Linked DNA regions of Homo sapiens: regions 2 and 3 are each linked to region 1. Evidence: promoter capture Hi-C in 16 types of primary human blood cells and fetal thymus (Javierre and others, 2016). All regions are on one chromosome and are shown on one strand. The core of a region is centred on a gene start or on the middle of the fragment in contact, and the rest is flanking DNA. Distances in the headings are between cores, read along the strand shown. Region 1 holds the start of MBNL1 (muscleblind like splicing regulator 1). Region 2 overlaps MED12L (mediator complex subunit 12L). Region 3 overlaps MED12L (mediator complex subunit 12L).

Region 1 (2,616 bases), core at 79-2,578:
CCATCTGCTATGACTTGTGCCTGTGCTGGTGGGCACACAAAGTGAAGTCAGCGGCAACAACCTTTCCGGCAGCTTCTTAACTTTAATCCTGGGGAGACATACTCCACGGAAATACACCCCAGAATCCCAACAGCCGCATACTCTCCCGGCCCCAGAGAGCCTTAAGAATACAATATTACTCTGGCAGCAACACCCCTGTAGTTGTAAAGTGCTGTGCGAGGGGAAGGCATAAGCGCCACCATATACCTGCTCGTGTTACAGGCTCTGGAATCAAAGTATTCTCACATGACACATTACTACCAATAACAGATTCCGGCTCCGTTTAAAAAAAAAAAAAAAAGTTGGGGGGTGGCTACATATTTGTCCTGCTTTTGTCTAAAAACCAGAACCCAAGTACTAACTACTTTTCATTCTTTTCAACCTTTCATGAAAGCAATTCAACCAACTGCGGCTCCACCCAAAGAGCTTCTATACTTACTTTTCTTACAGTTTTTGAGTGACGCACTACAAAACGATGAAAAAAAAAAGAAGAAGAAGAAAAGGAGGAGGCAGCCCTCTCCTACAGGGCGTCTTCCGCCCTGTAAACTTGGCAAAAGGCAAACTGGCCTGAAATACAGCACTCTCCATATAAGGCAGCCCAGCTAAACATGTCATGCGTAATTTATGGGTAGCAAGCAGAGAATTAACCTTTGCGTGCACATATTTGGCCCAGATGAAAACCGGGCGGGATGGCAGCCCCGGGGCCAGGGATGCGGGAGCCGCCGGGAAGACCCGCGCGCCGCTCGACTCAGAGGGACTCACACCTTCCCCCGACAAAGGTCATTAAGTTGTGAGTACACTTGCACGCACCTGTTTCTCTTCTCGCCCCCCTGTTTCTCCCTGGGTCCCGCTGGGCTGCCAAGCCGTGCGCGGGCTGTGCCGTGACAGCGTCCGCAGAGCCCGCGGCAGGGAAGGGCGCAGGAGCGGCTGCGGCTCACCCTCCCGCCTTCCCCCGGGCAGGAGGTGCTGAGGGACGCGAAACCAACTACCGCGAGCGGCCCGCCCCTGCCCGGGAGAACCGCGGCCGGCGAGCACCTCCTCGCACTTCCTCCTTCAGCCACGGGCAGACCCGCCGGAGTCCGAACAATGAAGCGGCGCGGGGAAACTGTGAAAATGGAAACTTACCTCTCACATTTTTTTTTCAGAGGCGGCCCCACTGTCGACCAAGTGCCCAAGGCATTGTGGGAGTCATGATTCCAAGATGCCCGCGACGGAAAATGGAACTTGTCAGCTCCTTGTCATGGGAGCATTGTGGGCGCCACAACTCATTCAGCTGCAGTGAAAAGACTGTTGCATGTCGCTGTGCAGCCTCTTATCGCCGAGGTCTGGCTTCCGCTGCTGCTGCGCGGCCCCTCCCCCGCCCGCCCAGCCCCACCAGGAAGCCCAGGGCGGACTCGTCGAGCTCCTAATGCACGCGGCGGCGAGAAAAACGCTCTTCAACTTTCCGCCGGCGCCCTCCCGCGCTTCCCCGGGCCACAGGGTCGCCTGTCAACCGGACAGAGCCCGCAAGAGCGGGTCATGGGCGGTCGCCCAGCGGCGCCGAGAGCAGGAGGAAGCCGGAGCCCGCGCGGGCGCCGTGGATCCCCTCGGCCTCCCGTTGGTATCTTCCATCTCATGCGTTCAGCATTGTAACCTCGCGGCGGGCGTGCAGACCGGACGCCCTCCCGCTTCTTCTACCGACTGCTAGGCACACCAGTGGGTTCATTTTGAAAGAGGCCCTTGCACCGGGCTTTGCAAGGAAGCCGGCAAGGTTAGATTGAAGGTTAGAAGCCAATTAGACTAGAATCCTGCGATCTGGTGAGACTGCCGCCTTAAAATGCACCAAACAGTTTTTGAACCTGGAGGGCTAACAGGCGGGAAAAACATCTGCAAGACTGCCACCGTGTATTTTTCTCAAGTAACAGGCTATCCACAGTTTTGGAATTCCTTAGTGAAACTGTCACACAGGCACAAACACATGTCAGCTTTCCTTCTAGTTTGTAAATAATATTTGTAATTTACAGGCCACTGTATTCCCAACTTTGCACCATGTGATTTAGAGAAAGCAAAGCTCCCTCTTTAAAAATAATATGTTACTTCTGAAATACCGGGATATTCCACGGCAAGTAAGCCATATTGTCGCCAGAGCAAATAAACCGCAGCCCCATATCATAATTCACTGGGTGCTATAAGATGTAACTTGGCTTTGCTTTGAATGGAAAGAATCCTGAACGTCTGTGATGTGATGAAGTTTTGGAGACTGGGGGCAGGATTTCCTTTGAATGTAAGGAATTCGGATAACTTGTTCAAGGATGATTCTAGTGAAAAACGTTTGTCCCATGTTTGTTGGGACAAAAATGCTGGATATGGTACAACATTCTTCCTGCAGGTTCGGTTTTGTTGAAGAGAGTGAGGCCAGCTCGAGGTGAAGGAAAAACATCAGAAAGGTGCTAAAGTGCAGAAATATCTTCCAGAGGCACTAATAGCCGACTTTAGTTCTTGACCTTTAGCTAGATCCACAAAGCACTGAGTTAAAATTGTACACTGATCCCTTCCAGAACAAATTAATTAATTAAATGGTGCCTCTTCCCAGCGTTA
Region 2 (2,616 bases), core at 87-2,586, 950 kb after region 1:
TCTGCAGGAATGGGGCTTTAATTGAGACGTGGCTTCTAAGCCCATATTCTTAACAACTGTATTTACAACCTCAGGTCTAATTTTCTCAAGTGAATTCACAATTCCAGTCTCCCATGCTATATTTCCTGTTATTTACAAAACTTCCGTAGCCACCCCCATGCTCCCTGACCCCACAAAAACGATACGTTTCTGTGTGGGTAGTAACCAGCCCAGATGCTGCCAGGTAATAAGCCCTGACCTAGAGGCTAACAAGAACCTCCCAGGACCTTACCCAAGCAGCTCACACTCATTTCCTGAATGCCTGCTGTGTGCCAGGCTCTTTACAAAGATTATCATTTTTCTAATTCTTACTACAATCTTATGAGACAAATACTACTAGGCTCTCTAGTTAAAAATAGGAACAAAACTGAAGCACAAAGTAAACATACACCTTGCCCATGGTGCACATCACTCACCAACAAATGGGGCAGAGCTGGGACTGAAACCCAGGAAGGTGGTCTCAAGACCAGCACCTCAACTGCTCTGGTCACTGCCTCTCTGTCCTGTCAGACTTAGCAGAATTCCTCAAAGGCCCCACTAGGGAGAATGAGGAGGCTTCTTAGAGGGGAAGAGAGAAGTCTCAACACGAATGGGCTTCAACAACCTCAGGGGTATGAATGGTGCAATAGTGGCACCTACAATTACTTCAGGGGTCCCTCCAGCACTTGAGAGCTCAGGGGGAGTAAACTCCCCAATAGTGGATTCATTTGTTCATTTAGCCAGTCATTCCTTCATCATCAACTTGGGTACAGGGCCTTTTGCATCTCTAGAAGGTGAACACTGGTAAGGAACACAGATTATAATGACTCAAGATGTGATAAGAGGTGTGAGAGACACACCACAGAAGTTCAAAGGAATAGGCAATTCATTCCACATGGAGAAAATGAAGAAGGGTTCACAGGAGATGGAAATTTGAACTGGAACTTGAAGAAAACAGAGCATTCAAAAGGGAACCCTGCGGCACAATAAGCAGTTTCAAGGCAGGCTCAGGTAGGGGTGGAACTGTGCTGTGGTTGGAGCGTGAGGGTTGCAGGGGGCCTGAGCCTACAGCACATGACATAGGGAATACATTTGGGACAGAGATGCAGGACTGTACAGCCAAGCACTGTACTGGGACATCTAGTCTTCACTAATGAGTCGTTGAAGGTTTCTAAGGTGAAGAACCACATGTTCTGGGCTGTGCTTTAGGAAAATCAATTGACCAACTATAGGATGATTCTAGACTGAAGGAAGAGCCAGTGAGGCCAGGTCAATTAAAGAGGCTTTCCATGTATGCAGGCAAGAATGATGGGGAAAACATCTGACATGGACCTTCCAGACATTCTCAGGGAGAGAGGTTTTAAGTTCAGAGTCCAAGACCATTGAAAGTGGGGGACTCTATGTAAAACATGTGGTTAACATGTAAAATATATTAGCAATGGGATCCATAATGCCTCCACCCCCTTCTCCTCGAATTGAGGGTTGATTTCTCTCAGGACCGTTAGCTTGAACGATTTGCTAGGTCATCATCACAGAAGTGGATTTGGGGTATGTTCCATTTGAGGTATCAGTGAAAGAGCTAGGGTCAAAGAGCCCACAGCTGGGCCAAAATATGGACCCAGGCTCCAAAAATAGGACTAAGATTAGAGGTCTAGGGAATAATCTTTTTTGAGACAGGGAGAGAAAAAGGAATGAGATGAGAACCCCAGAGGCCATACTACACAGGTCTCATGGTCACAACAGACAGAAGAGGAACAGGGGATGATGCCTTGGAACTGGGAGGAGTGGGTAGTGTTAGTAGAAAAGGAGAATCAGGAAGTCCAGTGTACTGAATACCAAGGAACAAGAGAGATTCAAGGAGGAAGAGATAGCCAACAGAATTATACACTCTAAATTTAGTCAAAAGTGATGAATCTACAACTATAAGGTCAACGATAACTCTGAGGTGGAAGTGGGGTGAGCTCCAGTTTGTGAATGGGAAGTGAGGAAGTAGAAGCAACCCTTATCTTCCCATAATGGATAAGTCAGTTTAAAAGAGTTCCATGGGGCGCCAGATGCAGTAGCTCACACCTATAATCCCAGCATTTTGGGAGGCCAAGGCAGGTGAATTGCTTGAGCCCAGGAGTTTGAGACCAGCCTGGACAACATGGTAAAACCGCAACTCTACAAAAAATAAAAAAATAAAAAAAAAATTACCTGGGCCTGGTGGCATGCACCTGTAGTCCCAGCAACTCGGGAGGCAAAAGTGTGAGAATCACTTGAGTCCAGGAGGTTGAGGTTGCAGTGGGCCATGATCACACCACTGCACTCCAGCCTGGATGACAGAGCAAGACCCTGCCTCAAAAGACTTCCAGGGAGAAACAAATCAGCTTTTATATTAGTTAGGCTTTTCCCAGGGATTTCTATGAACATGTAGAATAATTCCTTTCTATGCTATGATGTGCATAGTGAACATGTTCCATGTGAAATAGCTAACAGAGAAGTACAAATCAAACAGTTGGGTGCAACCACACAGGCCAGAGAACTCAGCCTTGGTCAGAAACTGGGTGTATCAATATTTTCAATATCCATGTAACCCGGGTTTCTGCTTCCTTGCCT
Region 3 (2,616 bases), core at 82-2,581, 880 kb after region 1:
AGGGTTACACAGCTACATCACCGGAGAGCAGTGGCTAGAATTCAGACCTTTGTAAGCCCGGTTCTACAGTTCTTTAACCACATGATGCTCTGTTTAGGCAACAGAGGCAGTCTAGCATATTTTATTGTTAATGTGTATTTCCTCTTTTTGCTAAAAAAATTCTAAAAATTTGTTGCTAAAAATTCTAACACTGCAAAGTTAATCTTACTAAATTATAACCAGTTCTAAATCTCTGTAATCTATTTATAATTTTGAAGATAATATCAAATTTAAGAGTCAAGTTATAGTCAACCTGTAATTGGGTTAGTATTAACTTCAATCCAAATCTGCATGAACTTGGTTCAATATGTGGGCCCTGTACTTAATAAGCCATACTCTGAATATAATATTATTATTAGAGAATTAAATTGTAGCAGCAGGAATAAGTAAAGTCTTTCAACTCAAGCTTATATTTACTGACTCTAGAAAAAAAAAAACGGTTACCCTCTTTTTATTCTTAACATTAATTGGTGACATCTCTTGGCACTTGCCTTAAAATGTCAATTTAAAAATATTTTTCCTTAAATGGCCCCCAAATAACTACTCAGTCATTCCCTAAGATGTAAGTGTTACTGTTGTTATCTATATGCATTCTTTTATGAGTAGCTTCATCTAAAACTAAGGTTCAGGCCAGGCACAGTGGCTCGTGTCTGTAATCCCAACACTTGGTGAGGCTGAGGCGGGTGGGATCACCTGAGGTAAGGACTTTGAGACCAGCCTGGCCAACATGGTGAAACCCCGTCTCTACTAAGAATACAAAAAAAGGCTAGGTGTGGTGGCTCACACCTGTAATCTCAGCAATTTGGGAGGCTGAGGCAGGTGGATCACGAGGTCAGGAGTTCAAGACCAGCCTGGCCAAGATGGTGAAACTCCGTCTCCACTAAAAATACAAAAATTAGCCAGGCATGATGGCAGGCACCTGTAATCTCAGCTACTCAGGAGGCTGAGGCAGAGAATTGCTTGAACCCGGGAGGTGGAGGTTGCAGTGAGCCGAGATCACGCCACTGCACTCCAGCCTGGGTGACAGAGCAAGACTCTGTCTTGAAAAAAAAAAAAAAACAAAGACAAAAACAAAAAAAAATTAGCTGGGCCTGGTGGTGCATGTCTGTAATCCCAGGTACTCAGGAGGCTGAGACAGGAGAATCGTTTGAACCCGAGAGACAGAGGTTGCAGTGAGCAAAGATCGCACTACTGCACTCCAGCCTGGGCGACAGAGCGAGATTCCATCTCAAAAAATATAAATAAACAAAGTAAAACAAAATAAAACCAAGGTTCAATTGCCACCTGTAAATTGACTGTTTCCTAATATTTGTCTTGAGATGAGAACTTTTTCCTTGGTGTAAAAACCACACATCCAAATGGATTCCAGATGTCTTACTACCAGGAAGTCCGCTGACACTGCAAACTCAAACTTGACCATGACTTTAGCTTTTTTTCTTTACACAAACTGGTATTAGATTCTCAGGCTACTCTAAATTCCCTGGTAAATCTGATTCTTTCATGTCTTCATATAAACTCTCCCTTTATTTGTACCACAATTTTCCCTACCTCCCAGCTAACTCTTAATCCTTCAAAATGACTCGTGTCAATTTTCCTGGGGACCCTCTATTCTATCCCCTAATACTCTCTCTGTACCATGTCACACAAATCTCATTACACTGTAATTGTCTGTCTACTTCCCCCTTGAGGGTAGGAACTCTGTCTTTCATCTTGGTGATTGTGGAATGTCGGTGGTTGCTTACTGTTCATTAAAAGAGTAACTGACCAATTTTCTCATATTTTAGAGAACCATCTTTAATATCTTATATAAAACAAATGTCCATTAAATACTGCTTGATAGGAATAGAGAATATCCTAACAATTAAAATAATTTTTATTTGAAATAGCTTACTACAGGAAGGTTTTTTTTTTTTTTTCCCCCCCCAGAGACAGGGTCTCACTTTGTTGCCCAGGCTAGGGTGTAGTGGCTATTCACAGGCATGAGCCTAGCACATTGCAGCCTTAAACTCCTGGCTTCAAGCAATCCTCCTGCCTCAGCCTCCCAAGTAGCTGGAACTAAAGACATGTGCCACCATGCTCAGCTTACAAGAAATTTTTCATTGATAAATATATTCTGCTTCTAAATCTGAAGTATAATCAGAACTTATTTATGCAATTTTTTTTTTACACTAAGCTTTTACTTAGTTTTCTCTTGGTAGGTTTCCAAAAATTTACTTAAATTCAGGGAAACATTTTAAGTCCTTTAAACATATAAAACGTAGATCTTCAAAGATATGACCTCTTTATATGATAATGCCAATGACTAAGTACACTTAGAAGACAAGCATATGCCTTAAAAACATCAACAGCAAAATTAATATATTTTATATATCCTATGGTAAGACAAAAAAAAGTATTTCATCTTTTGTAAATAAATTTATATATAAGAAAAAACATTCACTCTTGCCTGTTTTTTATCTATAGAGTCAAATCCAGCAATTTTGTTTCCTTTTGTGTCAATCAAGGAACCCATAGGTTCACAAGTGATGACATCACATGTCTGTTTCGGCAAAGGTAGTAACTGTCGAACTTTGTCAA

The links. The method cuts DNA at HindIII sites, captures the fragments that hold promoters and counts their contacts. A CHiCAGO score of 5 or more calls a contact.
Region 2: a contact is called between a fragment that was not itself captured here and the fragment with the promoter of MBNL1 in region 1, in 2 of 17 cell types (monocytes and neutrophils). The highest score is 5.4, in monocytes.
Region 3: a contact is called between a fragment that was not itself captured here and the fragment with the promoter of MBNL1 in region 1, in 1 of 17 cell types (neutrophils). The highest score is 5.4, in neutrophils.

Annotation. Positions count from the first base shown.
Region 1 is chr3:152,267,641-152,270,256 of GRCh38, reverse strand. It overlaps MBNL1 (muscleblind like splicing regulator 1), which reads right to left and starts at 1,328. Exons shown (of 10, transcript NM_021038.5): 1 at 1,165-1,328. MBNL1-AS1 (MBNL1 antisense RNA 1) reads left to right here and starts at 631. Exons shown (of 2, transcript NR_027038.1): 1 at 631-829; 2 at 1,185-2,616. RefSeq lists silencers at 881-990, 1,391-1,440, 1,491-1,550 and enhancers at 441-1,282, 1,741-1,840, 1,283-2,125. The HindIII fragment of the contact is 10,088 bases long and covers 1-2,616 here.
Region 2 is chr3:151,321,947-151,324,562 of GRCh38, reverse strand. The region is part of intron 16 of MED12L (mediator complex subunit 12L); the gene reads right to left. Among named protein-coding and RNA genes, the nearest start is that of P2RY13, 6.3 kb to the left of the region's middle. The HindIII fragment of the contact is 3,707 bases long and covers 1-2,616 here.
Region 3 is chr3:151,385,061-151,387,676 of GRCh38, reverse strand. It overlaps MED12L (mediator complex subunit 12L), which reads right to left. Exons shown (of 45, transcript NM_001393769.1): 36 at 2,486-2,616. Among named protein-coding and RNA genes, the nearest start is that of P2RY12, 1.6 kb to the right of the region's middle. The HindIII fragment of the contact is 1,767 bases long and covers 448-2,214 here.